Linked DNA regions of Homo sapiens: regions 2, 3, 4, 5, 6 and 7 are each linked to region 1. Evidence: promoter capture Hi-C in 16 types of primary human blood cells and fetal thymus (Javierre and others, 2016). All regions are on one chromosome and are shown on one strand. Each heading gives the region's core, a stretch centred on a gene start or on the middle of the fragment in contact. The rest is flanking DNA. Distances are from core to core; before and after follow the strand shown.

Evidence for each region. The method cuts DNA at HindIII sites, captures the fragments that hold promoters and counts their contacts. A CHiCAGO score of 5 or more calls a contact.
Region 2: a contact is called between a fragment that was not itself captured here and the fragment with the promoter of CCT4 in region 1, in 4 of 17 cell types (monocytes, neutrophils, naive CD8 T cells and 1 more). The highest score is 6.6, in monocytes.
Region 3: the fragment with the promoter of SANBR here is called in contact with the fragment with the promoter of CCT4 in region 1 in 4 of 17 cell types (naive CD4 T cells, total CD4 T cells, naive CD8 T cells and 1 more); the score reaches 7.0 in naive CD4 T cells.
Region 4: a contact is called between a fragment that was not itself captured here and the fragment with the promoter of CCT4 in region 1, in 2 of 17 cell types (naive CD8 T cells and naive CD4 T cells). The highest score is 6.0, in naive CD8 T cells.
Region 5: a contact is called between a fragment that was not itself captured here and the fragment with the promoter of CCT4 in region 1, in 1 of 17 cell types (total CD8 T cells). The highest score is 5.3, in total CD8 T cells.
Region 6: a contact is called between a fragment that was not itself captured here and the fragment with the promoter of CCT4 in region 1, in 1 of 17 cell types (monocytes). The highest score is 7.6, in monocytes.
Region 7: a fragment that was not itself captured here is called in contact with the fragment with the promoter of CCT4 in region 1 in 1 of 17 cell types (M0 macrophages); the score reaches 5.5 in M0 macrophages.

The regions. Positions count from the first base shown.
Region 1 is chr2:61,886,543-61,890,945 of GRCh38, forward strand. CCT4 (chaperonin containing TCP1 subunit 4) reads right to left here and starts at 2,114. Exons shown (of 14, transcript NM_006430.4): 1 at 1,839-2,114. The coding sequence starts at 1,965. It also overlaps a transcript of COMMD1 not described here. RefSeq lists enhancers at 1,142-1,703, 1,704-2,263, 1,805-1,884, 2,824-3,383. The HindIII fragment of the contact is 8,675 bases long and covers 561-4,403 here.
Region 2 is chr2:62,711,706-62,716,108 of GRCh38, forward strand. The region is part of intron 2 of EHBP1 (EH domain binding protein 1); the gene reads left to right. Among named protein-coding and RNA genes, the nearest start is that of EHBP1, 8.2 kb to the left of the region's middle. The HindIII fragment of the contact is 9,392 bases long and covers 1-4,403 here.
Region 3 is chr2:61,064,000-61,068,402 of GRCh38, forward strand. It overlaps SANBR (SANT and BTB domain regulator of CSR), which reads left to right and starts at 1,872. Exons shown (of 22, transcript NM_001129993.3): 1 at 1,872-2,028. RefSeq lists silencers at 1,652-2,021, 2,052-2,401, 2,412-2,471 and enhancers at 1,761-2,262, 2,263-2,762. The HindIII fragment of the contact is 4,406 bases long and covers 1-3,301 here.
Region 4 is chr2:61,180,573-61,184,975 of GRCh38, forward strand. It overlaps the pseudogene AHSA2P. Among named protein-coding and RNA genes, the nearest start is that of C2orf74-AS1, 4.5 kb to the left of the region's middle. RefSeq lists an enhancer at 1-498. The HindIII fragment of the contact is 2,881 bases long and covers 877-3,757 here.
Region 5 is chr2:61,208,712-61,213,114 of GRCh38, forward strand. It overlaps USP34 (ubiquitin specific peptidase 34), which reads right to left. Exons shown (of 80, transcript NM_014709.4): 69 at 3,061-3,218; 70 at 188-266. Among named protein-coding and RNA genes, the nearest start is that of C2orf74-AS1, 33 kb to the left of the region's middle. The HindIII fragment of the contact is 989 bases long and covers 1,256-2,244 here.
Region 6 is chr2:62,502,898-62,507,300 of GRCh38, forward strand. It overlaps TMEM17 (transmembrane protein 17), which reads right to left and starts at 3,298. Exons shown (of 4, transcript NM_198276.3): 1 at 3,133-3,298. The coding sequence starts at 3,232. RefSeq lists silencers at 2,197-2,491, 2,829-2,998, 3,209-3,478. The HindIII fragment of the contact is 5,299 bases long and covers 1-4,403 here.
Region 7 is chr2:62,429,503-62,433,905 of GRCh38, forward strand. LOC105374764 (a long non-coding RNA gene) reads left to right here. Exons shown (of 6, transcript XR_002959390.2): 2 at 1,496-1,551. Among named protein-coding and RNA genes, the nearest start is that of TMEM17, 74 kb to the right of the region's middle. The HindIII fragment of the contact is 2,736 bases long and covers 697-3,432 here.

The DNA.
Region 1 (4,403 bases), core at 864-3,363:
CGCTTTGCGAAGCCAAGGCAGGCCGTCACTTGAGGCCAGGAGTTTAAGACATAACGGGTCATCTTCACAGATAACTTAGGTGGCCTTTCCTTCCCACATGCACACCCTCCTCTGTTGTTTCAGTTCTTTGTCTGCTTTTGTTTCAAAGGTTGCTAAATTTCCCACTTATTTTGTTTGTTGAATATCAACCATATTATAAACTCTCTTGGCCCCCAAATTTATCTTTTTTTTTTTTTGAGACGGAGTTTCGCTCGTCACCCTGGCTGGAGTGCAATGGCGCGACGTCAGTTCACGGCAACCTCCGCCTCCCAGGTTCAAGCTATTCCCCTGCCTCAGCCTCCCGAGTAGCTGGGACTACAGGCCTACGCCAACACACCCACCTAATTTTGTATTTTTAGTAGAGACGGGGTTTCTCCATGTTGGTCAGGCTGGTCTTGAACTCCTGACCTCATGTGATCCGCCAGCCTCAGCCTCCCAAATTGCTGGGATTACAGACGTGAGCCACCCTGCCCGACCCAAAATTTATCTTTCAACATTCTGTTCCTAATCTAATAAATGTAAGCTTCAACTATGGTCCCTAGACAATTATCCTACAAACCTTCGTTTCCAGGTGTATTATCTCCTAAACTTACAAATGACTCCTAAATCTGGCCATTCTGACCTTTCCAACTCATTAGGACAAGTTAGAAACTATTACTTTTTCTTACATCCAGCGTTACCTATCTTAGCGCCATCACATTCCCAGTTACTTGGGCTGATGACTGCAAACACATGTAAGGTGTACTTTATATACGTGGGTCTTTATATGCTTTCTCACTGAATCCTCACAGCAAGCCTACACGATGGCTAAAAAGAAATGATCCCATAGCTGGGGGAGATTAAGCCAAATACTTTCCAGGACACCAGGCCTTTAACATCTGCCCCAACCTAGCTTTCTAATCTCACCTCTTCTGTAAACATACTACTATTCTCCAACCCAAAAGAACTACTATACTCAATATACACTCGGGCAAGATCTCTAAACCTCTGTCCTGACTTTTCCTTCCAGATTTTTCTATTTCAACTCGATTTCTCTTAATCTTAACTCTAAAAAGCAAACATTTTCCTCCAATTTTATAAGTGAATCTTTGGCACAGAGGTTACAGGTCACTAAGACATGAAGTAACGGAAGCAGAGAATGAAACTCTGGTCTTCCTGATTTCCAACGTGTGCCACACACTTCCACAAAAAAAACAAATAATTGTTTCTTGATTTGCCTATGTTTCACTGCACATGCGGAGACGACATCAACGTAACTTTTCCGCAACTATTTCAAACACGACACGTAAGTCGGTTCCCACATCCATCCCAGTACAATGGGCCCCGCCCCAATTTAGACTCGGAGAGTTCACCCAATTCGTCTCAACAGTTGTGCCAAGTGAAGTTTATTTAATAGTTCTTTAAATAAGAATAACAAAGCTGAAAGATACTGTGCATTCTACCAGTTCCAATAAGCAATAAGCGACAGCCCTCAAGCGTCAGATCCCTAGTGAAGACTGCATGCAATCCTCGGCATTTTGAACTGCTTTCGGCTCCAATATGAATGATGCACAGTGCAGGATGAAAAACTAAGGGAGATTAAGATGCAAAATGGGGCAAGTCCAAAGGCCTCCATACTCCGGGTTGGCGATCATCGGCAGAAAAACAGAAATAAGGATCCCTCCACTGGGCTGCTTCTATAGGGAGGACAAGAGAGGATCACCCGAAGAAATGGGAAATGAGCCAAACCCGCTCAAGCCCACGATGAGAGCGCAGAGCACAACCCCGCGGCGCCGCGGGTCAGGCCATGAGAGTGATACCTTTGGCGGCGGAAATGTTGCTGAAGCGGATCTGGGCTGGCTTGTCGCGGTCCTGATAGGCGCCTTTCCCGCGGCCGCCGGCAGCCCCGGCAGTCGCCCCGCTCCGGGGTGCCACATTCTCGGGCATGGCAAACTCCGCTGTGTCTGGGTTGGCTCGGGAAGGACGGATGGACCCGGATTCTGGCCGGCCGCAGTGTAATAACGGTAAGCCCTCACTGCCTTCACGAACCTTCCAGAAAGCGGCGCCGGCGTCGGGAGGAGGCGGAGGCGGAGAAGGGGGCCTTCCTTGCCGCGCGGCGCTGGCGTGACGTAGGAGGCTGTCCGCTGCGCGCCGGGCGAGGAGGATGCGTGCGGTGGGCTCCGGGCTGGCGAGATTGTACGCCCGGGGCGCTGTGGGTGAAGAGCGCCGGGGGAACCTTTACGCGAGGCAGCAATGACAACGCGCGATTTTAAAGGCGAGTGGTGAGGACATCCGCATTTCCTCACTCCACCTTGCACGGCTATGAGGTCCCCTCCTTTTTTTTTTTTTTTTTTTCTTTTTTTGGATACAGTCTCACTCTGTTGCCCAGGCTGGAGTGCAGTGGCGCAAAATCTCGGCTCACTGCAGCCTCCGCCTCCCAGGTTCAAGCGATCCTCCTCAGCCTCCCGAGTAGCTGGGATTACAGGCGTCCGCCACCATGCCCAGCTAATTTTTGTATTTTTAGTAGAGACAGGGTTTCACCATGTTGGCCAGGCCGGTCTCGAACTCCCGACCTCAGGTGATCCACCCGCCTCGGGCTCCCAAAGTGTTGGGATTACAGGCGTCAGCCACGAAGCCCGGCCTTTTTTTTTTTTTTTTTTTTTTTTGACAGAGTCTCGCTCTGTCGTCCAGGCGGGAGTGCAGTGGGGCGATCTTGGCTCACTGCAGCCTCGACCTCCGGGGCCCAAGCGATCCTCCCGCCACAGCCTCCCAACTAGCCAGGACGACAGGTGCCCGCCACCATGCCTAGCGAATTTTTGTATTCGAAACATAGCGAGACTGGGTTTCGCTGTGTTGCCCAGGCTGGTCTGACCTCCCCGGCTCAAAGCGGTCCACCCTCCTCAGCGTTTCAAAGTACTGGGATTACAGGCGTGAGCCACCGCGCCCACCCGGAGGTGCCCTCCTTTAACTCCGGCTGGATCTATCCGCGAGGTGGGGTGGGCGCCGGAATAACTCTCTAAGGGATATGACTGAGTCTGTTTTTGCCCGGCCACATAGACCTGCATTTTATGCAGTTTTGTTCATTTTGAAAGGGAGTCAGAAAAGGGAGATTTGGAATGAGGCGAGGTTAGTTATCTCGTATTGGTTGATACTGGGTGGTGGAGGTTTGACAGACTGCCAAATCAGGTCTGTCTAGTTACCACCGCCCGCTTGTTCTACACTAGTGTCTCCTGCATGACGTAGCCACTGACTCTTAGGGAACGTAAACATTATAATAAAGATCATTTATTTCCGTTATCTGCTAAGCACAGTGCTAAACCTTTACACGTTTTATATCTCGTTTAGTCCTCACAATAATCCTTTACTTAAAAGGTGAGAGAACTGGAGCCCAAAGAAGGAACTGAAGCCCAGGGTAAACGAGTCAGTAGATAGAAGCAGTATTCCAATACAAAGCAAGGACCAGAAGCCATGAGCTAAACTGCTGGTCTCCTATGACCACTATATTTCAGTAGGGAAGTTTATGAAATGAGGTTTGTTGAATGTTCGCTCACAATTATTAAGCACCTGCAAAGTGACAGTTGCGTGTGGTAGGTTCAGAAACAAATGTTCAAAGGTACTTAATCTTGTAATTATGAGGTGGTGGTGGTGTTGTTTGTTTGTTTGTTTTTGTTTGTTTTTGAGACGGAGTTTCACTCTTGTTGCCCAGGCTGGAGCAGTGGCACCATCTCGGCTCACCGCAACCTCCGCCTCCCGGGTTCAAGCGATTCTCCTGCCTCAGCCTCCCCAGTAGCTGGGATTACGGGCATGCACCACCATGCCCGGCTAATTTTGTATTTTTAGTAGAGACGGGGTTTCTCCATGTTGGACAGGGTGGTTTCGAACTCCCGAGCTCAGGTGATAGGCCCGCCTCGGCTTCCCAAAGTGCTAGGATTGCAGGCTTGGCGAGAGCCACCTCGCCAAGTTGTTCTTTAACACACATTTAGCATATTAGCACTAGGGGCCTGGCTCAGTAGCTCACGCCTGTAATCCCAGCACTTTGGGAGGCCGAGGTGGGTGGATCGCTTTAGGTCAGGAGTTTAAGACCAGCCTAGCCAACGTGGCGAAACCCCGTCTCTACTAAAAATCAAAACATTAACCGGGGGTGTAATCCCAGCTACTCGGGAGGCTGAGGCAGGAGAATCCCTTGAAGCCAGGAAGTGGAGGTTGCAGTGAGCCGAGATTGCGCCACTGCACTCCAGCCTGGGTGATAGAGCAAGACTTTGTCTCAAAAAAAAAAAAAAAAAAAAAAGAAGGATATTAGCACTAGGAAATGAAGATCCATAAACCTCTGAGGCCGACTTCTCTTCAGAGGACCAGAATACTCCCAAGTAGCACATAAATTCTAT
Region 2 (4,403 bases), core at 1,051-3,550, 830 kb after region 1:
AGGAAACAAGCAGTAGTGAGATAGGAAAATTGGGAGAGCGTGTTTTCTAAGAAACCAACTGCAAAAAGTGTATTAAGGGAGTATTTGGCTGTGTCAAATACTGTTGAGAGGTTGAGCAAGGTGACCGTTGGATTTGGCAAGATGGAAAGAACTAATGATTTTGAGGAATGGTTCAATGGAGTGGTGGAGATGAAGACTTGATTAAGTTGGCTTAGAGGAAAGGAAGTGATTACAGTGAGTATGATGATTTTTTTGGAGTATTTTGCTACAAAGCAGAGAACTAGGTAATACTTGGAGAGAGACAAGGGTTCAAGGTACATTTTTTGCTTGGCAGATATTGCAACATGTGTAAATGCTGGTGGAAATGATTGGTAGAGAAGGAAAAATGGATGATGTGGTGGGAGAGGAGGTAACCTTAGGACAGAAAAGTCTTTGAGTGAGAGAAAGAGAAAAGGATCCAGAACACAAGTGGAAACGTTGAACTTAGGTAGAAGCAGGGACCATTCATTGTTACAAGGGGAGAAGCAGGGTACATGGGTAGAGAAGCAGATAGGTTGGTAGATTTGGTTGGGAAGGATGTGGACATTCTGTTTTCTCAGGGAAATGATATAAGAAATCATCTGCTGGGAGGGAGGTGACAGTTGTTGAAGAACTGAGGAGATGAGGTATGAAGTTGTCAAAGTGAGAATGAATTGACTAGGGAAATGTAGGGGGATTGCTGGGTAGTAGTGATGACCTTCTTAACTTTGTGATTATAAATTTTAAGTGAATGCAACCAGCAAGTTTGCATATTTTAATCCAACTGTGTTCAGTGCTTTGGTGCAGGCATGGAATAGATAGAGTTGGATTTGACCAGGATTGGATTTTGTCAGGAATGTATAACTGAGGGGAAGAGAGACAGGGAAATTGAGAGCAAATGTGCAGGAGTGGTTTTAGTGATGAACCATGGAATATAAGCTGGAAAAGGAGAAGGTAAGTACGTGAAAGATGGGATAGTCAGTGAAAGCATGAAAAGGATAATGATTGAAAGATTTTAAAGAGGTTGAAGAATTGTTGGGGTTGGGAGCTGGAAAGATGGGAGGTGGAAGAGTGTGAGATGCTTGATTTTGAGGATGTGGTTAATGTTAATGACAAGATACTGGTGGTGTCCTTGGATCACATGTGCATATCTGTTTACAAAAATGAGCACATATCCCAATATATTTTTAATATACTGCATACATGAAATATGAGTATACTTTAATTTCCTTTAATAAAATAAATACCTTTAAAATAAATAAATTTAAGTAGAATTTCTTGCTGTGTTTGAGTAGATAATCTTTTGCACCTTCCAGGTATTCCTATTCCTTGTTAGAGACTATAGCTATTAGTATATAACCATGAGAGTTGGTGGCTGAGGTGAAATGGAGTAAAAGATTTTTTGGGTATGAAGAGGGTGGTCAAGGAATTTAGAGGCCAATGTGTGGACAGATTATTTGTGTGGCTCTTGAAGTTGCCAAGAATAATGGGAGGAGAAACATTTAAGACAGGGAGTCAGGTGCTAAACTCTTTTTTTTTTTTTTTTTGAGACAGAGTCACACTCTGTTGCCCAGGGTGGAGTGCAGTGGCTCATTGCAACCTCTGCCTCCTGGGTTCAAGTGATTCTCATGCCTCAGCCTCCTAAGTAGCTGGGATTACCGGCATGTACCACCATGTCTGGCTAGTTTTTTTGTATTTTTAGTAGAGACAGGGTTTTGCTATGTTGGCCAGGCTGGTCTCGAACTCCTGTCCTCAAATGATCTGCCCACCTCAGCCTCCCAAAGTACTGGGATTACAGGTCTGAGCCACGGCACCTGGCCTGGTGCTAAAATCTTTAATGTATGAGGGGAGAGATGGGGCAGAAGGTTAGATGACTGCAAAAGGAAGAGGCAAGGTAAGAAAGGTATTGTTCCCTAGTTTCTAGGCTTGCTTCTAGAGAGGTTAGTTTGCAGTACTTTCTATGTTGCAAGTTATGTGAATCTTGAACATCTTATTCCTTGAAACAAAATAGCGCAGTCTTTTCTATATTGTAAGTTGTCAAAGGCATATGATTTTAGCAAATGCTAAATTGATGTTACTTGTTTGTAATTTCATGATAGTATCTTATAAACTGATTTTTTTTAAATTGTAATTGTTACATATTGTGTTTTTTCCAGATTTTAAGTCTTTATTCTATGTGAAGAACAGTTTTACAAAATTCAATTGTGGTGGGTTCTTTAAGGAATATAGTGGAGCCACTTAATGCCATAATTGGATATTGATGTGCTTACATCATGATTATGTCTACACATGACTCAAAATATGCCTCTAGATCAAGAGTTGGCAGGCAAACTCTGGCCTGATCCAAACTGGCTCTTTTGTTCTCTAAAAAAATAGAGAACAAATTTTTTTCTGTAAATATTCACACTTTGGGAGGGGCTGAGGTGGCAGGATCCCATGAACTCAGGAGTTCAGTAGTTCAAGACCAGCCTGGGTAACATGGTGAGACCCTATCTCTTAAAAAGAAAAAAAGAAAGAAAGAAAAAGTTTGCTGACTTCTGCTTTAAGTCGTGGGAGTTACTTGCAGCTAGTGTTTAGGGAATACAGAGTCTAGCACCTTTCTGTGTTCTCTGTGCTCAGGCTCTAAACTATTAGTTTAGTCTTATTCCACTCAAACTACATAAGTAACAGAGAAGAGACCATTGTGCCAGTTTTCCAGCCTTATAGAAAGAAACTTTAGAACAGCTTCTGAAAACATTGAGGTCTGTGTCTGTGTAAAATACATATTTTCTGGCTGTGTGACCTTGGATGAATTATCTCTTGGTACTTCTTCAGTAGTGGAGATGATAATAACACTACTTCCAGCATAGAGTTGTTTTGAAGATTAAGTAAGATAATACCTGTAATAAAGGGGTTAGAACAGTGTCTGACAGAGTAAGCACCCAGAAAATTTTACCCATTGTTGTTATTATTTTTTATCTGATAAATAAGCAATGAGTGATGAAGAGAACTATCTAGAGAGAAAGGTTAGAGTAGGTGGGAAGAAGACTGTAAATATAACCTGAACTTTTAAGAGTGTTAGAGAAAGATGAACTAGCATAGGTTGGAGTGACCAGGGAGGTAGGAGTAACCAGGGAATGTGCCTGCAGAAGTACAGTGCTGAAATGAGCTAAGTTTTGACAATACTTTGACTTTTGGGGAGAGGAACTACATATTTTTGCTTCTGAAGCAAAATCAATTCCTATGGTTTTATAACTTTATTTCCTTTTTATAATAATTTCAAGCAAATGTTGGGCTAAGAAAACTAACTTAATTTCTCCAAAGTAGAATTAATTTGCCAGCATTTGTGTATGCATGTCTGTGTGTTCGTATGTGTCCTGTAGCGATGTTTTATGATATTTATGATGTATTTCTTTTCTTTTTTTCTTTTGAGACAGAGTCTTGCTCTGTCACCCAGGCTGGAGTGCAGTGGCACAATCTTGGCTCACTGCAGCCTCCACCTCCCGGGTTCAAGCAATTCTTCTGCCTCGGCCTCCCGAGTAGCTGGGACTATAGGTGCATGCCACCATGCCCAGCTAATTTTTTGTATTTTTAACAGGGATGGGGTTTCACCGTGTTAGCCAGGATGGTCTCGATCTCCTGACCTCGTGATCCGCCTGCTTCGGCCTCCCAAAGTGCTGGGATTACAGATGTGAGCCACCGTGCCCAGCCGAGTCACCGTGCCAAGCCATTTTATGATGTATTTCTTTTCTTTTTTTTTTTTGGTATTTTAAAAATATATTATTTCTGAATTTTAAAGAGTCATATGGCTACCCAGAATAAAGATTATATTTTCCAGATTTCCTTGCACTTGGTGTGGCCATGTGATTAAATTCTAGTCAATGTAATATGAGGGGAATTGATGTGTACAACTTCCAATTAGAGTCTTTGAAAGGAATGGACCTGACTTCCTCTTATCTTGACCCATTCTTGATAACTGAGGTATGGACCCAGAAGGAATGACGATTTTCAACTATGTGAATGAGATCAACAACTGGGGGATGATGGGTAACAAGACTGAAGAAAGTCAGGGTCCCAATATCATCAGGTTGCTTCCAGCCATACTACTTCTGAGCTGCCTACTTAGACTTTTTTTGAGAGAAACGTTTTCTATCTTATTCAGCTACTGTATCTTTGGATGTCTTTGCTACAACAAACTAATCTTTACCCTAGCTAATACATGTTATGCTTAATTAACCCTATTATCGCTAAGATAACGTCAAAATTTCACATCTTGGAGTAAGAGAACATCTTGCTCTACACCCTATTTTATCACTCTAGCTTCTCCTCATTCTCTTACTCCTACTCTTTCATTCTGAATTACCCTGAATTCATCATAAATGCATGGTTTCTTTCAGATCTTGACC
Region 3 (4,403 bases), core at 622-3,121, 820 kb before region 1:
TATTCTTGTTTTCATGGTTGTAAAGTACCACCATCACAACTAAGTACCAGCCTATATGAAAGAAGAAAGAGGGGAAGTAGAGGGCAAGCAGTTTCTGTTTAAGAATTTACCTGGCTGGGGCTGGGTGTGGTGGCTCACACCTGTAATCCCAGCACTTTGGGAGGCTGAGGTGGGCAGATCACCTGAGGTCAGGAGTTCAAGACCAGCCTGGCTAACATGGTGAAACCCCATTTCTACTAAAAACACAAAAATTAGCCGGGTGTGGTGGCACACGCCTGTAATCCCAGCTACTCGGGAGGCTGAGGCAGGAGAATCACTTGAACCAGGGAGGCGGAGGTTGCAGTGAGCCAAGATCGCGCCATTGCACTCCAGCCTGGGTGACAAGACCGAAACTCTGTCTCCAAAAAAAAAATAATAATAATTTACCTGGCTGGGCATGGTGGCTCACGCCTGTAATCCCAGCACTTTGGGAGGCCGAGGCGGGCAGATCACCTGAGGTCAGGAGTTCAAGACCAACATGGTGAAACCCCATCTCTACTAAAAATACAAAAAATTAGCTGGACATGGTGGCATGCGCCTGTAAATCCCAGTTACTCAGGAGGCTGTGGTAGGAGAATCGCTTGAAGGGAGGTGGAGGTTGCAGTGAGCCCAGACGGTGCCACTGCACTCCAGCCTGGGCAACAGAGCAAGACTCCATCTCAAAAAAATAAAAAAAGAATTTACCTGACTTAACCTAACATCTTATGATACGACACTTGCCTAACTTTATTTTTATTTTTATTTTTGACAGGGTCTCACTCTGTTGCCCAGCTTGGAGTGCAGTGGTGCAAACATAGCTCATTGGGGCCACCACGCCCAGCTAACTTAAAAAAAAAACAACTTTTTTTTTTTTTTGGTAGAGACAGGGTTTCACTTTGTTGTTCAGGCTGTGCTCAAGCAATCCTCTCGTCTTGGTCTCCCTAAATGCTGGGATTATGGGATTACAGGTGTGAGCCACCGCACCCAGCCACTTTAATGTCTTTGTGGAACAAAAATCGTAAAAGATCTGCAGAAAGTCACAGGATGATACAATTGGTAAAAACTCCTGACATTCTGTACAGTGAACCACTTAATCTCTACTTAATCATCAGATCTCGTAGTAATTATTCATTTGGTTAAGGCTTTACTTTTTCTGTTCTTTCTAATCCTAACATTTAATTTTGGTTCTCAGAATAGACCAAGTGGAAATTAGATAGAAATGTTGACATGTAGCAGTTACCCTACAATATTGAGCCGTTTGCATTTTACTAGATGCCCAATAGTAGTGTTCCTCACAATAACACACACACACACACACACACACACACACACACACCCTATTAATGTATGAAAACCGAATTTGTAATCCAGAGCTATTTACATTTTTAAAGAGCTACCTCCTGGTAAAGACACTTCAGGTCCTTACCCAAAGACCTTGGTCTAAAAGATACTTTCGGTGTCCCTCATCATGCGATCTTTCCGCTCTACCTAAGCGGTGTACCAAATGATCTGCACCAAGAACAATTTCATCCATTCTTTAATCTTTTATCTCCTGTATATCCCCCTTTCTTCTGGACTCAGGGTTGGTCACCTAAGATCAGGCTCCTAGGATCTGGTTGCTAAGAGACAAGACGCTGGGAGGGTGGGGACGCTGCACTGCGACAAGCCTGGGAGTGTATGCCAGAGGAGGAAGGAGAAGCAGCAGGCAAGGCAAGGCGACAGTCAGCCGCCGCCGCCCCTCCGGTGCCCTCCCGCCCGGCAGGGGCTCGGCGCTCATTGGCTCCGCCGCTGCGGCGCTGGCCCGCGATTGGCCGGGCGGCGTCGGCTCGGCGGCTCCCCCACCCCTCGGCGCTAGTCTCCGCAGCCGCCTGCAAGCGGGCGGGGGCGGGGTGTGAGGCGCTGCGGACGGGGTTGCGGGCTCGGTAGCGGCAGCTTCAGGGCGCGAGCGCGGGCGGTGCCGACCACTGCAGGTAACAGAGGCGCTGCGAGGGCAGCCGCGGCCCTGTGGAGGTGAGCGAGACGCCGAGGGGGCTCGGGTGCCCACCGCGGGGCGGGAAGTGCGGCATGGGGCGGTACCGCTCACAGCCAGCCGGCTCCCGCCGCGGCTTCCCACCCCGGGCGGGGTCCCACTTGCCCAAACGCCCCCGAACGCCCCCGTGCACAGCCTCAGCCGGCCGCGCCTCGAGCAGCCAGCTGGCCCGCGTCCCGTCACCCGCCCGGTCCATGTCCCTGCAGACCGTCCCGCCCGCGCACAGCGGCGGGAACCCCAGCTTCTGCGCGCCCGGCCGCGCCCCGGGCCTCTGCCCCGCCTCGCTCCCGCTGCCCGGCGCCTTTGTCCGCTCTGCGCCCCTGGAGTTTCTGTGCCTCCACGGGCGGGAGCGGGGCGCGAAGGTCTGGGGGTGCCCCGAGGACGCGCCGCGTAGTGAGCCTCCGGGCCCAAGGTTTGACTGGCTTTGACCTCATGCCGGTTCTGGGATGTGATTTTACTTTCTCCTCCAGCTGACTCCGATCTCCTGTGTGTGCAGAAGTCAGGAAGCCTGGGTACAAGGCTTCTTCCCGGTCCGGGATGACTCGGTGTTACCGCCGCCCTCTGTTAGGCCAGAGGCCTTTGACCTGCCTGCCTGCCTGCCCCACGGGGCCCCCTCTCTTCCCATCTTTCCACTGGCTAAGGGAAAACGTCTCTGTCTCCAAGAGCTTTTTTTTCTATTTGAAATAAGAAAAAAATATATCAGATTCCTGTTGTAGACCTCTATCTGGTGTGGAAGTGACTTAGACTAGTCTTCTTAATTAATACATGTATATTAAATACATAAACCAAGAGAAGGGGGTCGGGGAGGGGAGGGGAAGTATGTTCTTAAAAAATGAAGTCTGTTAAACATATTGGATTTTTATTTTTGGTAAATAACGTATTTTACCTTAAATATTGTCAAGATTTTGATATTTTATGAATGGGAGTGGATTTCATAGTAATTTGAACTTTGAGCTTTTTCTTGTCACCGTTTTTGATAAATTTATACTTTCCTGAATGAGGTGCACTATAACAGCTATTTCGAGATAATTTATGTTTTATTAAGGATTATCCATCAATGCTATGCCTTTTATACTTAAATTCAGACTCTGATTTCTTGGACATTCATTTAACTAGAATTAATGCTGGGGGGTCTTCCCTTGCCTAGTACAGTTGTATAAAGAGAAAGTCAACAGAAAAACTTTTTTCTCATTTGGATGATTTAAAGTACTCTTAAACATGTATAGCATAAATTAGTATCACATTTGAAATGTAAGCTTTTAAGTGTTTGACGTGGGTAATATTTTTGAACTTTTAAATGAATCTTTTTGGAAGTGAAGAGAAATGAGCTCTCAGGGAAGATCCTTGCCCTGAATTCCATTTTAGATTGCTTTCTACCAAGGCCCAAACAAATTATAATAAAACGCCCTGGCCGGGTGCAGTGGCTCACGCCTGTAATCCCAGCACTTTGGGAGGCCGAGACGGGCGGATCACGAGGTCAGGAGATCGAGACTATCCTGGCCAACATGGTGAAACCCTGTCTCTACTAAAAATACAAAAATTAGCTGGGCGTGGTGGTGCGTGCCTGTAGTCCCAGCTACTCGGGAGGCTGAGGCAGGAGAATCGCTTGAACCCGGGAGGCGGAGGTTGCAGTGAGCCGAGATCGCGCCACTGCACTCTGGCCTGATGAGAGAGGGAGCGCCACTCCGTCTTAACAACAACAACAACAACAACGCACTATGTGCTCTAACATGCTTCCCAAATTGTGTGGTATGAAAAGTGATGCAAGTACTAGGCAAACAAGTAGAGATCAGTGCTTTGTTCTCTAGAGAGAAAGCAAGTCTTTCAAGGATTCAAAACTAAATTGATTAATCCAGCAGGACATGATCCCCATCCATCTTTGCACATCCCCATCTATACTTAAATGTTTAAATGAGTTGTGGACCTGCAGTTTGGAGTGAATTCCAAAGGATACATTAAATGTCTCTTAAGGTTTTGTGACCTTCTCGTTAATTCAGTAAACATTTTGGCAGTATCTGCCTTGCTGGTCACACTTTTGGGGAATCAAAGATAGAAGGCCCAGCCCATCAAAGAAATCATAATCCAGCGAGTTAAAGAGAGAAATAAACAGAAATTTCTCAGGGCCCTTCCAAGGTTCTTCCAAGACTTTTTTCAAGTCTTCTTTCCCCATGTTTTCATCAAACTCAGCCTGGGACATGCAAAAGGGCATTACTTTTCAGATTCACTCACTTTTTTCATCTTACTTTGAGATGACCAACTCTTTAAAAAACAATGAAGTTCTGTAAAATATGTTTCCAACTGGGCACAAGGCAGTGCTTTACAGTTATTAAACTAATTCTTGGAAATTTTTGTGCCA
Region 4 (4,403 bases), core at 1,067-3,566, 710 kb before region 1:
TTGTCCTAACACCTCCCAGCTGCTCTCCTCCAGCAGCGAGTCTCTAGGGTGGCAACTGGGACCCACTGGGGAGGAGGCAACACTCTAGTCCTGAGAGAAGTCTACCTGCCTGGTATCCCCCACACAATGCCCTCAAGCCAGAGCCTCCCTCCCCTCCGTGGTCAGAACGTACTGTCCCTTTCTGTCCTTCCATCGCTTTTGTGACTGCTTCTCCCCTTCAGGGTACTCCTTTGTCCTGCTTTGCCCAGGCAAAGAGTACCCTGGGACAAGAAGAGGAATATGGGTGCACTTGCCCCACACTCCTCTCAGGACGGCGGACTGCTGACTCCTCATGCCCTCTCCTTGGCCATGGCCTGCCTGACCTTTCTTCCGTGGCTGCTCAGGGGGCCCTGGAGTGGTGGAACCCTGTGAGGGCAGCTGAGCTATTCAGTGAGGTAGGGCAGTTTTTCATAAAATCAATTTTTTTTTCTTTTTTGAGACAAGGCTCACTGCAGCCTTGACCTCCCAGCAATCCTCCCACCTCAGCCTTCCAAGTAACTGGGACCACAGGTGTGCGCCACCATGCCCAGATAATTTTATTTTGTAGAGACAGTGTCTCCCTGTTGCCCAGGATGGTCTTTAAACTCCTGGGCTCAATCCATCCTCACCACAGCCTTTCAAAGTGCTGAGATTATAGGCATGTGCCACAGTGCCTGGCCCAGTTGTTACTTTGTATTATAATTGAAGAACCCATTTTGCTCATTTTAGGCATCGTTAAAGAATCTGGAGTGAAGCACAAGGGATTGATTGAAATACCCAATCTTTCTGAGGAAAATGAAGTAGATGACACTGAGGTATGTGATCAAGTTTCTATTTCTTTTGTTCTTTTTTCAGTCAAGCTTCTGCTACAGACATTGGGCATTTCAAATAGTGTTGATCAGACTGTGTGGTTCCTGTGTGGTAGTTCGGGTGCCTTGTGGAGGGCCTGTTTGCCGAGAAGGATTGCCGTACTGTGGGGGCAGCGTGTTGTGTGGAGCTGGAGTGGTACAGGAAAGAGAGTAAGCCCCAGGAAGCCCTGAGCTCCCCCGAGGACCAGGCAAGGGGCCTGGGCAGCTGGCTGCACCCTCCTTAGCCTCCTCATCTGTGAAAAGGGGTTAATTTCTCTTCCAGGGGTGTTGTCACGTTAGATGTGACAGTGTGTGCACTGTAAACTGCTCAGGCAGCTTGCATGGCTTGATGAATGTGACTCTCCCTCTTCTCCTGCACCTTTGCCGTTTCCCTTTAATGGTGAAAAGTCTCAGCCTTTAGCTGCTATCTCTCCCTTGGTTATGCCTCACGGTTTTTTGTAAACTACCCAGTTAGTACGTGTTGCTTTTGTGGCTCTCTTGGTTCTCTTGGGAGACAGAGCCTTGTGTAACTCCCATGCTTGGCTTCAAGTTAGTGCCCTCTTTTGGCTGAAAGCTGGGTTTTGGGGGTGAGACCATTTGTACAGCCGCTATATTTTTCAAACGAGGATAGTCTGACAAAGGATTTTTTTTGATTTGTGAACGTATTTAACATGAAGGCTTTTCAAGATAGGCTGACTCCTGCCCAGCAGTATGTCTTATGGCACGAAGGTTATGCAGTGCCACAGGCCGGGGGCTGTCCCAGACCTCTGTCTTCAGTTATGTGGTTCCTCTGCTCAGGGCCTGAGATTCCACTTTGTTATATTCAGATCCATCAGCTGAGAAATTTTTCAACAGAATGTTTAACTGGTTTTTAAGATTTAATCTCTCAGTAGCATTACGGAACAAACTCTTTAGATTCAAACTGGGGCCCGAGATCAGGCCCCCCTCAACTGAAGCATCGGGACACTAAATTTTTTCAAATCGACCCCTTTTTCTTCTGGGAATACTAGAGACATCCCCACAGCCCTCTGTTGCTTCCTTCTCCCTTGGCCTCCCCCTTCTTCCCTCTCTTCTTCCTTCCCTCTGCCTGTCTTCTACTCTTCTCCCTTTCCCAATTTTCCTCTCTGCCAAAAAAGTATATAATCCAAGGCTGGGTTGTATGGGAACTTGATTTCCCTAATTACGGTGGCTTTTGGGTTCTATACCAGCACTGTTCCATGTAAATATAATGCAAGCCACATGTGCAGTGTAAGTTTTACTAGTAGCCGTACTTAAAAAGTTAAAGCTGTGGCTGGGCATGGTGGCTCACACTTGTGATTCCAGCACTTTGGGAGGCCAAGGTACGAGGCTCACTTGAGCCCAGGAGTTCGAGGCTGCAGTGAGCCATGGTCATGCTACTGAACTCCAGTCTAGGCAACAGGGAGACCCTTAAAAAAAAATTAAAGCCAGGTGTAGTGGCATATGCCTATAATCCCAGCTGCTTGGGAGGTTGAGGGGAAGGATTGTTTGAGCCCAGGAGTTTGGGTCTAGCCTCCGCAACATAACGAGATGCAAGCTCTTAAAAAAAAAAAAAAAAAAAGATAAACAGGTGAAATTAATTTTAATAATATATTTTATTTAACCCAGTATATATAAAAAAGATTTTAGCATGTAATTAATATAAAAATTATGAGGTATTTTACATTCATTTTTGGTAGTAAGTCTTTGGAGTCTGGCACGTATTATTTCACACAGCACATCTTGATTCAGGCCAGCCATATTTCAGGTTCTCAGTAGCCACATGTGACTAGTGGCTACCATACTGGACAGTGCATTTCTAGACCCCATGAAAGCCATGGACCACATCAGCAATAGGATTTATATACATACACATGCACAACTTTGTATGCAAATTAAAGGGTTTACATTCTATGAAGTCCATGCAAGATTTGGCCCCCAACCCTGTCATGGACCCTGGATTAAAAACCCTTAAAATCCTGCCCTATCACATCTCTTACATCTACTTCTTTCCTTCCTCCACTGCCATAGTTCTCTCATCCATACAGCCCAATGTTGTAAGAATACATCAAACCAGATCTTTCTTTGGTTTCTATTTTTCTGATTTGTAGGTCAACGTTGAGTAAAAAGAAAGGAGATGGGGTTATACTGAAGGATCTTATGAAAACTGCAGGCACTGCCAAGGTCAGGGAGGCCCTTGGAGATTACCTGAAGGCACTTAAGACGGGTAAAGAAGGCATCCCTTGTGAATCAGAGGGGTCCCTTTTCTATTTACCCAAGTTATACTCTACACTGTGGTCAGAGGCTCCAGAAGCAAGTTTATACTTCAGAATAAATTGTAGTCTGGAAGTTGAGAGCTAGTCATCGTTAAGACCATAATTAGTGATAATTAGTATTGTACACAGCATGAACCATTTTGCCTACAGAACTGTTAATTGTAGTTTTCTGGAATGAAAATCAGTTGTTCGTGTAATTACTTGTTTAATGTCTGACTTCCTTGCTAGACTATAAGCTCCATGAGGGCATGGAAGGTGTCTGTCTTGTTCACTGCTGTATCTCCAGCATCTAGCACAATGCCTGGCACATAGTAGGTGCTTAATAAATCTTTGTTGGATGAATGAATGAATGGATGAAAGTGACTGCAGGTATTACAGGTGTAATTGAGAAATACCTAGATAATATCCGCATTGCATGGAAGTGAGGTTATTGTTGTCTTCCCTAAATTAGAGAAGTGAGGCAGGCAAGATGGCCAGCAGTGCCTTATCTCTGTACCTCGTTCTTGGACCCTACCACCTGAGTATCTAGGTGTTGGCATAGATGGGTTTGGGGTTGTCACTTTTCCCGTGAGAGCGCACATATAGCTGGCTCACAGGCTTTTGAATACTGTGAAGACAAGCTTTGTGAGGCAGTGGTCACCCTCACGTGAGAAATTGTCTGTTTTGACAGTAGGTTAGAGCCACAAAGCTATTAGTAGTTAATCATATAAAACTTAGCTGTTTGGAAAAGAACTTTGGAAAATTTTGCTGCTTTAGCAAAAACTTGATAAAAGTGAGGCATTTGAAAAAAAGGCATTTGTTGCTGTGGAACTCACATTGTTAATCATCAGTAGTTTTATATGTAAAAACTTGGAATGGTCTTGAAATTCTCAAAATGTTATAGGAATTATTTTTATAAATGTTTTATTTTCTTACATGCTGTTTTGGGTTTTCTACCTTACTCTTTGTGCTTAAAAGGAGAAAGGTCCTTACTAAAACCACTTCCCTTGTTTCTTTATAGAATTTACAACGGGAATGATTTTACCAACGAAAGCTATGGCAACCCAGGAATTGACTGTCAAAAGAAAACTGAGTGGGAATACCCTGCAGGTATGAGCTCTGTTGGCCAAAATGTAGGGAAGGGGTAAAGGAAGTGTTTGAGTCAGGGCTCCGAATGGCCGTGTTGATGGAGAACTGAGGACAGCGAGGGCCTTCTTCCGCCTTTGAGTCTCCCGTGAGTCCTCTAAGATCTCCCATTTTGTTGTGCAAATGATAAAATGAGACT
Region 5 (4,403 bases), core at 500-2,999, 680 kb before region 1:
GAACAGCACCCTAAAAATTATGACCTAATTATTCTTGGGATATAAATTCAGGTTTACTGATCTATATAATTAAAACCTTGCCACCTGTAAAACAGTTTACCATAAACTCTAAATGTCTATAAAGTAAGTCTTGGTGAGAACATTAAAATGAGATAATATCCACAGTAAAATGCAATAGAATATTTACCTCTGTCATTAGAATCAATCCTCGATTAAATACAACAAGAAGTCTGTCTTCATCAGATTCTAATAGTATTCTGAAGGCACTAGAAGAAAACATAAAGTTCAGTTTGAGAAGTCTGAATAAGAACACAACACTTAGGTGATGAAAAAATAAAAAGAAATAAAATCATCATTTAAGCTCTCTGCTTTCCTACCTACAGAAAAGAGACTGCTTCATCTGTTTCCTGGAAATGCAGCATAAGGAAATAATATTAAATAAACTCTAACTAAAAAAAAGTCTATTAATATCTAATCAACTGCTAATTATCTACAATGGCAGAAGATATGGGAATATTTTTAAAGTTTCCACATAAACAATGTTGATTTTTATAATAGGCTCATCTTCTGATTGTTAAATTCTGGATAATCATAAAATTCACCATATTATCTAAACACTCATCAGCTGGTAATTAAAAAAGAGTAACATGAAGGAAAAAAATACTAAAAACGTGTCAGCCTTGAAAATAGTTTATAAAATACAGTCATGTGCCACAAAATGAAATTGTGGTAAATGATGGATCACAAACACAATGGTGGTCCCATAAGATTATAATGGAGCTGATAAATTCCTATTAGCCTAGTGACTTCATAGCCATGGTAACATTCACAATGCATTACCCACATGTCTCTGATGACGCTGGTATAAACAAACTTGTTGTACTGCCAGTCTTGTAAGTATACCACAATTATGTACAGTACCTAATACTTGATAATGTTAATAAATGACTATGTTACTGGTTTATGTATTTACTATATTATCATTATTTTACTACTTATTTCAAAAAAAGTTAAATGTAAAACAGCCTTAGACAGGCCCTACAGGAGGGATTCCAGAAGAAGGCATCATTGTCAGAGGAGATGACAGCTCTAAGCTAGTTACTGCCTCTGAAGACCTCCCAAGTGGGACAAGATGTGGAGGTGGGAGACAGAGATACTGATGATCCCAACCCTGCTAGGCCTAGCCTAATTGTGTGTGTTTATGTCTTAGTTTTTAACGAAAACATTTAAAAAGAAAAAAAATTTAAATATGAAAAGCTTATAAAGATATAAATACTTTTGTTCAGCTATAAAATGTGTGTTTTAAGTGTTATGATAGTGTGTTTTAAGTGCTACGATAGAAGAATCAAGAAGTTAAAAAAACTTATAAAGTAAAAAAAGTTCAGTACATTAATAATGAAGAAAAAGTATTTTAAAATAAATTTAGTGTAGCTTAAGTGTACAGTGTTTATAAAGTCTATAGTAGGGTACAATAATGTCCCAGGCCTTCACATTCCCTCACCACTCATTCACTGGCTTACCTAGGGCAATTTCCAGTCTTGCAAGCACCATTCATGGTAAGTGCCCTACACAAGTGTACCATTTTCTGTCTTTTATTCCATATTTTTACTGTACCTTTTCTATGTTTAAATACGTTTAGATACACAAATACTTACCTTTCTGTTATAATTGCCTACAGTATTCAGTGTAGTAACATGCTATACAGATTTAGAGCCTAGGAACAGTTGGCTATACCATATATCCTAGGGGTGTAGCAGGCGCTACTATCTAGTTGTGTGTGAGTAGTCACTCTGATGTTTGCACAATGATGAAATAGGCTAAAAATTTATTTCTCAGAATGTAACCCTGTTGTTATGCAACACATGACTATAATTACTCACACAGCTATATTACTGTTAACAGGTCTTCTTTCATTAGATACCAGAAAAATGTTGTTATAGACTACAACTGGAAATCCTTCTACTTTATTCCTTTCCTTTTTCAAGAAGAGTTAAGAAAGCTCCAAATCTTTTTTTTCTTTTTTTGAGACTCGCTCTGTCACCCAGGCTGGAGTACAATGGCACAATCATGGCTCACTGCAGCTTCCACCTTTTGGGCTCAAGGATCTTCCCACCTCAGCCCCCCGAGGAGCTGGGACTACAGGTGCATGCCGTCACACCCTAATTTATTTGCTAACTTATTTATTTATATAGAGATGGGGTTTTACTATGTTGCCCAGGCTGCTCTAAATCTTTTTTGAAATAAAGCTTTAAGTAGTAAACTTTGGGAAAACAATTGTATTCAAAATTAATCCAAAATTTAAAAACAATCCCTTTAAGAAATCCGGCAAAGGCGTAGTTAATTTCCCTGTTTACTAATGAAGACTCACATTTGAAAGCTTTCCAAAGAAGACAATCTGAAATAACCTCATCTTAGATTGAGTAGCTTAAGATATTACAGTGAAGTCTTCAGTAAAGTACCATTAAAAAAAATGTGCCTAATAAAAAACAACACTTCCAAGTCTTAGATGTAATACATAGAAGAATTTAAGAAATTAGCCTGAACTTTATTTCTCTAGGTTAAGGGGAATTAAGGGTAATTTGTAGTAGTTCCTGTAACCATTCAATAACTTCTGTAGCTCTGAAAATTAATTATAAAGACTATGTTTTATAATTTTGGCCAAGTCATATAGATCAGAAAGCCAGATAGATATATTTGGGCTAAACAGAATGCAAAATATTAACAGACTCATCCAAAGGTGCAGAAAACTTCCTGGAGGCCTCTAGAACTGAACTATCAAGCCTGAGTTAGGATAAATTGCCATAAACAAGACTATTCAAGCTTTGGGTAGAAGGCTATACATAAAGGTTCCCTTCAACCCTAAAATGATAAAACATACACAAATACAAACCAAAGCCAGACCAAAAACTGTTTAAAAGTAGTTCATGAACCTTCAAAATGTTCCAAAGTGGCTACATGCACAAATGCTTCCCCAATGTAAATGATTTATCTTTAAACATCAAAAGGATGGTCCTCATCTCACTGGAAATAAACAAGACAAAACTAAAAACATCTTTTTACCTTATTAAAGTAGTCCAGCAGGAGCGGCCATCTAAGCAACGTAAGTAACAACTTATGGTTGTTTTCTTGAACTGTTTAATATCTTCTAATTCTTCTTCTCTCATATCTGGCCTCTGAGCTATAAACAGCTGCATCAGGTTAAACAGTTCTTCTACTGCCTAAAAAAGCCAAATAAGCCATATGATCTTTTAACCCTATAGCATTTTAGAAGGTCAGTTTCTCATTTCTACGTTCATTAATCAACTCTTAAAATTATACAAATAAGCTAGATTATACTTCCATTCAGAAAGTTATAAAATCAGTAACAAATTCTATTTAAAAAATTTTGGCTGGGCGCAGTGGCTGATGCCTAGCACTTTGGGAGGCAGAGGCGGGCAGATTGCCTGAACTCAGGAGTTCGAGACCAGCCAGGGCAACATGATGAAACTCTGTCTCTACTAAAATACAAATAATAACAATAATAATAAACACTAAAAGAACTCAACAAATCTTAAAATACAAGTTTAGAAAGAGTAAAAACTGTAAGTGAATACAATTCATTTTTAGTCTTATTACTGCTTAAAGCACTACTTTTGTAACTTCAAATGTAAACCCAGAGGCATGCCACACCATCTCCTATCCACTTTTTCTTTAATTAATGAGAAATCATTACTTTGTCACAAAGATTTTAAATGCCTAAATAACCCTTAAATTAATAGTGTATATGAGGTAAACCTTTGTTCCAACATTTAAAATGCTTTTCTAGAATGATGCTCAGTTCAATTTCCTGATGAATAAAAAGTAAAAACAAATATTTTAGTAAAATCACTAGCTGTGATTTTATAGACTCATATGCACATGTCAGGAGAGGACTGCTCTTCTAACACATACTTGTCAATGAACTGAAACCCCCAGCTTCTTATTTTTCAAAGCAAAAAACTGACTTAAGTACCATTTTCATGAAAATTTCTAATAGATAAGGACATTCTACAATAAAAGACATTACATTTCACTGATGTCAAGGGCAATAAATAACATGGAGGGATAAATTCTAACTCATCTAGTACTTGTCAAAGTATATTTAATTCTGGACATCACATCTAGTAACTAGATCAAATATTATTTATGTGAATATGATAGAGACAAATTTACTGAAACTTAATAAATCCTATCCCGACCCCTTTGAAGTCAGAAAGATTGATATTTTGTATTCTTATGGCATTGGTTTTCAATTTCTTGGTACTTGTACACTCACTCTCTTTCCTGCATTGTAGGGATTCTGATTTTTTCTTTTGAGACAGAGTCTTGCTTTGTTGCCCAGGGTGCAGTACAATGTCTCAATGCAGCCTCAACCTCCTGGGCTC
Region 6 (4,403 bases), core at 1,180-3,679, 620 kb after region 1:
AAACACCAAATTTTATGCCTATTTATAATCATTGACAGTAAAAGGAATATTCATCCTAATACCAGTTAGGTCAAATATTGGCTATTTGGGGGTACGTTTCATATTTTTCAATTATTTTACCATTTTGCCATTACAGTCTTCTGACTTTTTGGCATATACTACTGGTATAGATTTAATGTAGAATATCAACATAAATCCTATTCAACAGATAATTATCATTGCCTCTTTTGTAGAATTCTATGTAAATAGCATATAAAATTAATGCATAAAATAAATAAAAATGAATCTCCCACAGATAAACTAATCTTATACAAAAACGGATTACCAAGGTTATAATTAGACACATCTCTCTTTTCAGCATACCCTAATCTTAGCCATTCTTTAAAGTCCAATTCAGTGTCATCTTTTCCATCAATACTTCCTTCATCAGTTCCCCCACCTCAGCAGAAATACCTTTCCCCTTTAGGTACTTACCACTCTAAACTGTCAATAAGAAGTGCTAGCAAAGAACCACACTCCCCTCCCCAAAAAACAGTCTGGTGTACTGAACAGATCATGGGCTTCAGAGTTCAAGCAAATCCGAGCTCCCCAAACCTCTGTGACCCTGGATGTCAGACTTGACATGAATTATTTAAACTCTTTGAGCTTCTATTTCTTCATCTGTAAAATAGTGAAATTAAAACTTCCTCACAGGCTGTTTGTGAGAATTAGAGCCAATATAAATTATTTCATCCTAGCACTGTGCCTGGCACACTTAGTAGGCACTCAACAAATATTAGTCCTCTTTCCTTCTTCTCTTCTACTTATCTACAGGCTCATTGCAAGCACACACCATGTCCTACCCTAATTTGAGACCCTCATAGAATCTAGCATCTTGCTTTCCACGCAGTGAATATCAAATACACATAAGAATGAATTAATGAAAGTATACTGTCATAAGGACATTACTAGCATAGCCATTTGTGATACATGAGTTCCATTTACCTAAGGTTGATTCCATAACACTTTCTGCTTTTATGTAAGAGAGCAGGGTCCTAGATTAAGAATTTGATTTTTAAAATTGAGCCCTACAAAATACATCCTAAATTTGACTAAATTCTTAAGAGCAGACACATATATTGAAATCAGTTGCTGTACACGTAAGATTTTAAAGGCTCTAAAATAAATGTCTTAAAAACATTATTTTCTCCTTTTCTCCATAGCTGAGTGTTTTTATCTGTCACTTAATTATTTTAAAATATAAGAAATAGTCATGGTCTCTCACAGCAAAATAGTTTCTTTTAGCTCCAAGAATATGCCTGATTATTATGATCTACTTTTGCTTGCAACTGTTTATTAAATTACCACTGATAAAGGAATGAATTCTTAAAATCTGTTAAATCTGAAGACAACTCACCAGCCTAGGATCTTTTCGATAGCAACAGTACAAAGCTGCGGACATGGTAATGACATAAACTTGTTATTACAGTACAAATAATCAAACCTACTTCCAATCCACAAAGAAGAAAATTTGGGAAAGAATAATAAATTGGGCAAGCTGAACATTTCAGTACCTTTGAGAAGAAACTGTAGTCAAATTTTGCAAAGAATGGTTTTCATGTTAGAAGTATTGTGTGTTAACATCTTAAAGGTTATGCTATGTCCATATTTCAGCAGATCAAACTTATAATCATGGAAATGAAAATCAAATTAATATGTAAATGAACCTTAAAAGCGTAAGACATAAACTTACTAAATTTTGCAAAAGTTCAAGTTGAGTTCTGTAAATGGAATTTAAATTAAAACATACAATATAAATCAGGGATAGGTAAACAACTGGCCAGCTGCCTGTTTTTGTACAGTCAATGAGCTAAAAATGTTTTTTCACGTTTAAATGGTTAAAAAAGTAATATTTTTTCCACACGTGAAATCCATATGAAATACAAATTTCAGTGTCCATAAAGTTTTATTGGAACACAGCCCTGCCTATTCAATAACTATTGTCAATGGCTGCCGTGGAGACCATATGGCCTACAAAGTCTAAAATATTTACTATCTGGTCCTTTTCAGAAAACGTCTTTTTACCTTGTATTATCAGACGTTAGTGCTCATTAAGCCTCATCCTTGGAACCAGAAACGTGAAAACCTATTTTTTTCACATTTTTCTCTGTACATCCTAAATCATAAAGGCCTACATTTGGGAAATAGGCAAGTGATCAAGGTGACAAAATGCAGCTTTGGGAACTGCCTTTACTTTTCTCTGTCCCTTTTAAAAATTCTCTAAAACCAAGCAGAGGAAAAGATTGATATTTCCCAGCAGAGTTGAATGATGAAAACCACATGGGTTTGGTTGACAGTGTGTTGTCTACCATCATGATGTAGGAGGAGGAAACTGTTCTGGAGGAAACTGTGTTATCACTTGACATCAAGTTAAAGGACGCAGAAGCATCATGGTATTTTGTTACCTTATGATAAGAGTTACATATAGGGGAGGAGGAGAAGGCAGGGAAGGGGTGAGTTTTGTTGAACGCCCGGCTAGTATGGCACATGCCAGTGGGAGTGGATGGTGGTTTGAAAGGACTCATTAACTTTTTTTTTTAATGTCTTCTACGAGAAAATGGCCTTGCTTAGGAACATACTTGTTCTGCTAGGAAAAGGGAAAAGGCAAATTTGTTCCCTGGGGTGGGGGTGGGGACGGGGGAGGTGGGATTGCTTGGGCTATTCCTCGTCATCCTGGACAGAAAAGCCGGGGCGGGCGCCGCAGAGGCAAAACAACTTGGGCCTTCGCTCTCGCGGCGCGCGGGGGACCAGCCTGTGCAGCAAGGGCGGCTTTTATCTTTTTATTTTTGGGGTTTCTCCGGGACAATGATGGGCCTTGCGCGGCACAGAGATCGGCCCCACGTCAGCTGCCGCGCTTGCAACAAGCTGGCCAGGGAGCACCACGCGGAGACCAGGCCCGGCCGGGGGCGGGAGGCCGCCAGCGCCTCAGCTCCCTGTCCGGCCCGGCCCCTCCTCCAAGGCGCTCTCCCGCACTGCGGAGAACTGGCTGAAGGCGACATCGCCATTTTAGGTACGGGCAAATTCTGGACGCTCCAAAATCCACGCCAAGCCCTCGGCAGGCCACACCCCCTGCACCGGGCCTCGGTCACTCACCCGGACCCTCATTGGACTCTGGACCGGTCCGATTGGAATCACTGAACACGGCCCGGCTGAAGTTTCCCAGCCGCTGGCGCACCGGATCCGGCAGCTCCATGCCTGGGCCTCAGTATCCCTCACCCCCTCAGACACGGGCTAGTCTGCGGGCGCTCCGAGGCTCCGTGGTTCCCACGGCAACCGGGCGGCGCGAGGCCGGCGGGACCCGGGAGCGCGCGGGGCTGCCCGGCTGGGCTGGGTCTCGTCCGGAGCCCGCGCAACCTGGAAGGGACCGGCGCGCTCAGAGCGCGTTCCAGGCCCAGGGAGCCGCGCGCCTCGGCCGTGTACAAAACGGCAGATCCCTTAGTTCTGCTTTGAGCTCGACCATCCTAAAAACAAACCTATACTAAGAAATGAGCTGGGGTTGGACTGCGATACAAGGAGCCCTCACATTTGCCAGTGGAACTGTAAATCGGTACAACCTTTCTGGAGAGAAATAGAGAACGAATGCAGAGCTTAAAGAATGTCTAGAGGTGTAGGGGTGTGTGTGAGAGAGAGAGACATCATGTGACTGATTATTTTTTAATAAGAAAACAGCAATGGGCAACTGATTAAATGTACTGGAGCACATACATTCAATGGAGTATGTTTCAGCTGCTTATAAAATGCTTGCAAAGGATATTGAATGGTATAGTTTAACTTTATGTAAAAATACAGCAGAAATAAAACTAAATGAGAATGAACCTAATTTAGCAAAATTTATGTGTATGAGTGGAGGGGAGGAGAGAGCGTGTGCACACTGGCTTGAAAAAAAGAACTGGAAAAAAGTCCAAAATGTTAACAGTCGTTTTCACTGGATAGTGGGATTGTAGGTGATTCAAAAATTTTTAAACGTCTTATTTTCTAGCTTTCTCTCAAGATATATTACTTAAAAAAAACTAAGTGTAATACACATACAGAAAAATTGTACACCTTTTGTAAGTAATATATATTACTTAAGAAATAAGTGTAATATATATACATAGACTGAAATCTGTATGTGTAATCAGCACCCTGTTCAAGAAACTTTACAATATTCCCAGAAACTCCCCCTTCCTATTTCCTTTCAGTCACTAAACCCACTCCTCACTCATAACTGACCTTTCCTGAATTCTAACAGCAAAGGAGAGTTTTGCCTTTTTTTTTTTAAATCAGAACATTTATTGTGTGACTAATCTAAAATTTTTTTTTTTTTTTTTTTTTTTAGACAGAATCTTGCTCTGTCACCCAGGCTGGAGTGCAATGGCACAATC
Region 7 (4,403 bases), core at 815-3,314, 540 kb after region 1:
CCTGACTTCGTGATCTGCCCACTTTGGCCTCCCAAAGTGCTGAGATTACAGGTGTGAGCCACCGCGCCTGGCCAGTATTAATTCTTTTGTTTTAGGAATACTCTACACATAGTTGGCATTTTAAGTACTTATGATGTTTAAGAGAATTTGGTCTATGAGAGGAACAGCTGAGGCTTATAATTTGAATTTTTTTTTTTTTTTGGAAATAGGGTCTTGCTCTGCCACTCAGGCTGGAGTGCAGCCCCCCAGGTTCAAACAATTCTCCTACCTCAGCCTCCTGGGTAGGTACAGGCATGCATCACTACACCTGGTTAATCTTTTTGTGTTTTTTGTAGAAATGGGGTTTCTCCATGTTGCCCAGGCTGGTTTCAAATTCTGGGACTCAAATGATCTGCCTACCTCGGCCTCCCAAAGTGCTGGGATTACAGGCGTGAGCCACTGTGCCAGGCCTATAATTTGAATTTAAAAGTGTAACTGAAGAAGTTAGACTTGTGATTTTAAGTTGAAAGTTTAATAAATTTCTATGTTGGAAGACTTAGAATAATTTAAGTATTGCTATATTTATCAGTTTATTATATTTAGATTTTCAAAAAGTTATTAAGATTTTGTTTAAGTCAGATAATTGAGGTATTTAAAAAGAAATTGCATATATTAAATTTATAAAAGTAGTTTAAAATGTTTGAATGTATATACATAAGCTTATAAATAGGACCAAATATTAACCAACAACATTCTAAAGATGTTTGCTATAATTTGCTACAGTTATAAATGGGGGGAAAATCTTTCAAAGAACTTAAAATCTAAAGGAAGGTTTTTTACAGATGAATGGATAAACAAAATGTGGTATAGCCATACAGTGGAATATTATGCATCCTTAAAAAGGAAGAAAATTCTGTCACATGCTTCAACATGGATGAACCTGCAGGACACTCTGCTAAGTGAAATAAGCCAGTCATGAAATAACAAATACAATATGATTTTACCTATGTAAGGTTAGATTAGTCAAATTCATAAAGACAGAAGCAGGATGGTGGTGCCAGGGGCTGGGGCAGGGGAAGGAGAATGGGGAGTTAGTGTTTAACGTGTACCGAGTTTCAGTTTTGCAGATGAAAAGAATTCTGTGGATGGATGTTAGCAGTGGTAGAACAACATGAATATACTTAATGTCACTGAACAATGTGCCACTTAAAAATGGTTAAGATGGTAAAAATATATATATATATATATATCGAGGGAGAGAGAGAGACAGAGAAATGACACCTGAAAGTGCTCAATCCTTAGAACTTTAAAAGCTCTACTTACTGAAAATGTTGCCCAGTAAAGTATAATTATAATTATTGGTGATACAGTCAACAAATGTATGCCTAGTTAATTCTTTATAGTAAATTATTACTGTTGGAAAAAAAGCTAAAGGAAGATTTTTTAAATTGATCATGCCAAAAACTTATATATTTTTTTTTAAAAACCAAAGTTATCTTTAATCTTTTCCATGCAGAAAAACCACCTACAAGGACTCCTCAAACTCACAATAAACATAGACTGTTCTCATAGGTAAGTGAGGGTTCTAGGGCTCTAACCAAGGAAGTGGAATGATGGATGGAGAGGAGAGGGGCTTATGTGGCAGGTGTCACCCAAGTAGAATGGTACCACTGATGAAGCTATGGAAGAAGGATCAGATGGCATCTGGGGAAGGGGACACCACATGTTCAGGTAGAAACTGAGCATTCAGTAGCCAGCCTGATCCCAAGGCAGGGCACTCAGAGACACCGGGTAGAGGTAAGGATTTGAGGGCATCGGGAATGGGTGGTGGTGGAAGTCCTGTGTGCTGCAGAGAGGACCCGAGAGAAGTGTGGAGGGACCTTGGCCAAGGACATAACTCTGAGAAGTGCCAACACTTTCGGAGTGGCGGGGCCTGAGATGGCAAGATTCACTTAAATGGTCTAATTTCAGGACCCAGAATTCCTCTGCATCCCTCCTCCACCCCATATCTCTTCCAGGGCTTTGCCATGCCTGGAGTTCTTCAACCCAGGAAAAGTGGCTACAAGACCTTGATGTTCCACTCAGAGGACCAGGGATTATGGTGGGAGAGATGACATAAGGACTGAAATCACACAAAGGTGCAAATGACTAATGCCAGTAGGTTTCTGGAAGCAGGTTCCGTAGACTTGAGGGTGCACTCCGAGGAAAGCTGAGTGATGAGGAAGCACCAGGAAGGAAGTGCTCAGAAAAGGGGAGGCCGGTGGCTGGAGTGACTCCTGGTCTAGCAGTTCTTCATGTCCATCTTGTTTTCATGCCAAGGGAATTTCAGCCTTACCTTTGCCCAGGTTTGGGTGGCAATGATAGGGACAGGAGAAGGGAAATTCTGGGCAGAAGTGGGTGGGTCTCCAGCAAGGGCCTCACCCTCAAGCCTAAAACTATGGCCCAAAGTGAGAACATTCCTGTTTTCCTGCTTGACTGTTGCCTTTTCCAAAACCACCCATGGCCCGCCCCACTCCTAACCTGTGCCCAAGAAAGCCCCAGGCTCCACTAGCAGAGAGAGAAGAGAAGAAGCAGTTGGATGTCAGAGACTATGGTTGAATGTCGGAGAGAAGGGGCTTGACTTCAGAGGGACAGCTTGATGGCATAGCTTTGGAGAGGAGTCTGGCCAGGGATGGCCAGACTCCGGGGGAAGATTACCTACCCACTCCCTCCCCTTCTCAGCTCCCCTTCTCACTGAGAGCCACTTTCATCAGCAATAAAATCCCCTGCATTTATCATCTCCAATTTGTTTGTGTGACCTCATTCCTCCTAGACCTCAGATAAGAATTTGAGTGTGGGTGCAAAGGGCTGTCACACTGACCCTCCACTGAGCTGTTAACACTTAAGCCATCTGCAGATGGCAAAGCTAAAAGAGCATTGACTGAAACACTCCTTCTGGGGCTTTAGGGGTTGTGGGCACCCCCCTAGACACTGCTGCAGGGCCAGTACAGAGTTTGTTCCGGCTGTCACCCAAAAGCGCTCTCTCTGGCTCCTGCACCCGCTCACCTGCATGCTCCATCCCTGGAGGGGTTGAGTGTGGTGGATTCCAGTGAGTGGGGTTTGCCCCAGCTAGCACTGAAGTAGCTAGTTCAAACACCCACACTCCAGTTCCCACCCACAAGGGGTCAGGGAAATTTCCTGCTTCAGCAAGATCCCCTGAGAAATAAGTGAGGAGGAATCTCTTTCAGTCTCTGGTAAGGGCTGGTGGGGTGGAGGTGGGGGGTGAGTGGGAAGAAGCCACTCCATCAGCTTTGTCTTGGCCTTTGGTGTTTTTTGATCTTTAATTCCCCCAGTATTGGTTCCATCCCAGCTGTGGTTGGGCATCCCTGCTTCACTGGTTAATGAAGAACAGGTGCATCATTAGTTAATTACATCCTCAGGCCTCAGAGCTGCCCAAAAGGAGGAGGCAGTGGAAGCTTTGTACCACCTCAGACCACTGCTGCTGGAAGAGGGAAGGGAGCTGTGGTCAGAATGGGGCCCCTGCTCTCCACGAGGCTTTTCTTCCTCCTGGTCTCCTTCTCTTGCCTGATGGCTGGAATGGAAGCTCCCTGAGGGCCAGGCCCAGGCCCACCTCCATGACTAGCTTGCAGGCCTAGCCCCAAGCCTGGCTTGGCTCTCGGGCCCTGAGCCAAAGAGGTGAGTAATCAGGGGCTGCCCAGGCTCCATGCAGAGAGTGCCTGGCCTGCCACCCCGTTGCTCTTGGGGAGCCCTGGGTTGAGGGGACCTTCCAGGAGTGGGTGATGCATGGCTGTGCACCTCAGGCCCCCAAATTGCATATCAGCATATTATTCGAGCCCCTTTGGATGCCCTCGGGCAAGGGGGAGATGTAGAGGGGTAGCTCCTGGGGCCATTTGCTAGATAAATTAGACAGGCGGTAGTTGAGAAAAGGCCTCTGTGCACAACAGGCACCTCCTATTCCTAGAAGGAAGCATGTTTTTTGCCAGACATCAGGTGGACATTGGGATATCGGGCCCTGGGGTAGTGATGAGTGAAGTTCTTGACAACTCCCCCAAGGTGAGCTTTAGCTACCTGCTGCCCACTGTGCCCTTAATCACATTTAATTCTCAAGAGAGCCTGCCCAGGGGGAAGAACAGCTTCCTCTTCTACAAATGTGGCCTCCCATATTTTCTACCAACCAATCAATGCTTTTGGAACCCCTGCATGGGGGCAACCACAGGAGATAGAGACCCATAAAGCTTAGCTCCTGACCTCGGGAAATCCGTCATCTTGGGGGATGCCAGGCAAACGCCTCAGGCCCAGAAACCCAGTGACCCAGGCAGAGGAGCTCTTGAAGAGGTGGATGACACTGTAGGGACACAGACAAGTCAGGTACTCATGTTTGTAAAACGGGTAAAAAATCTACATTATTATCAACATTTTGGGAC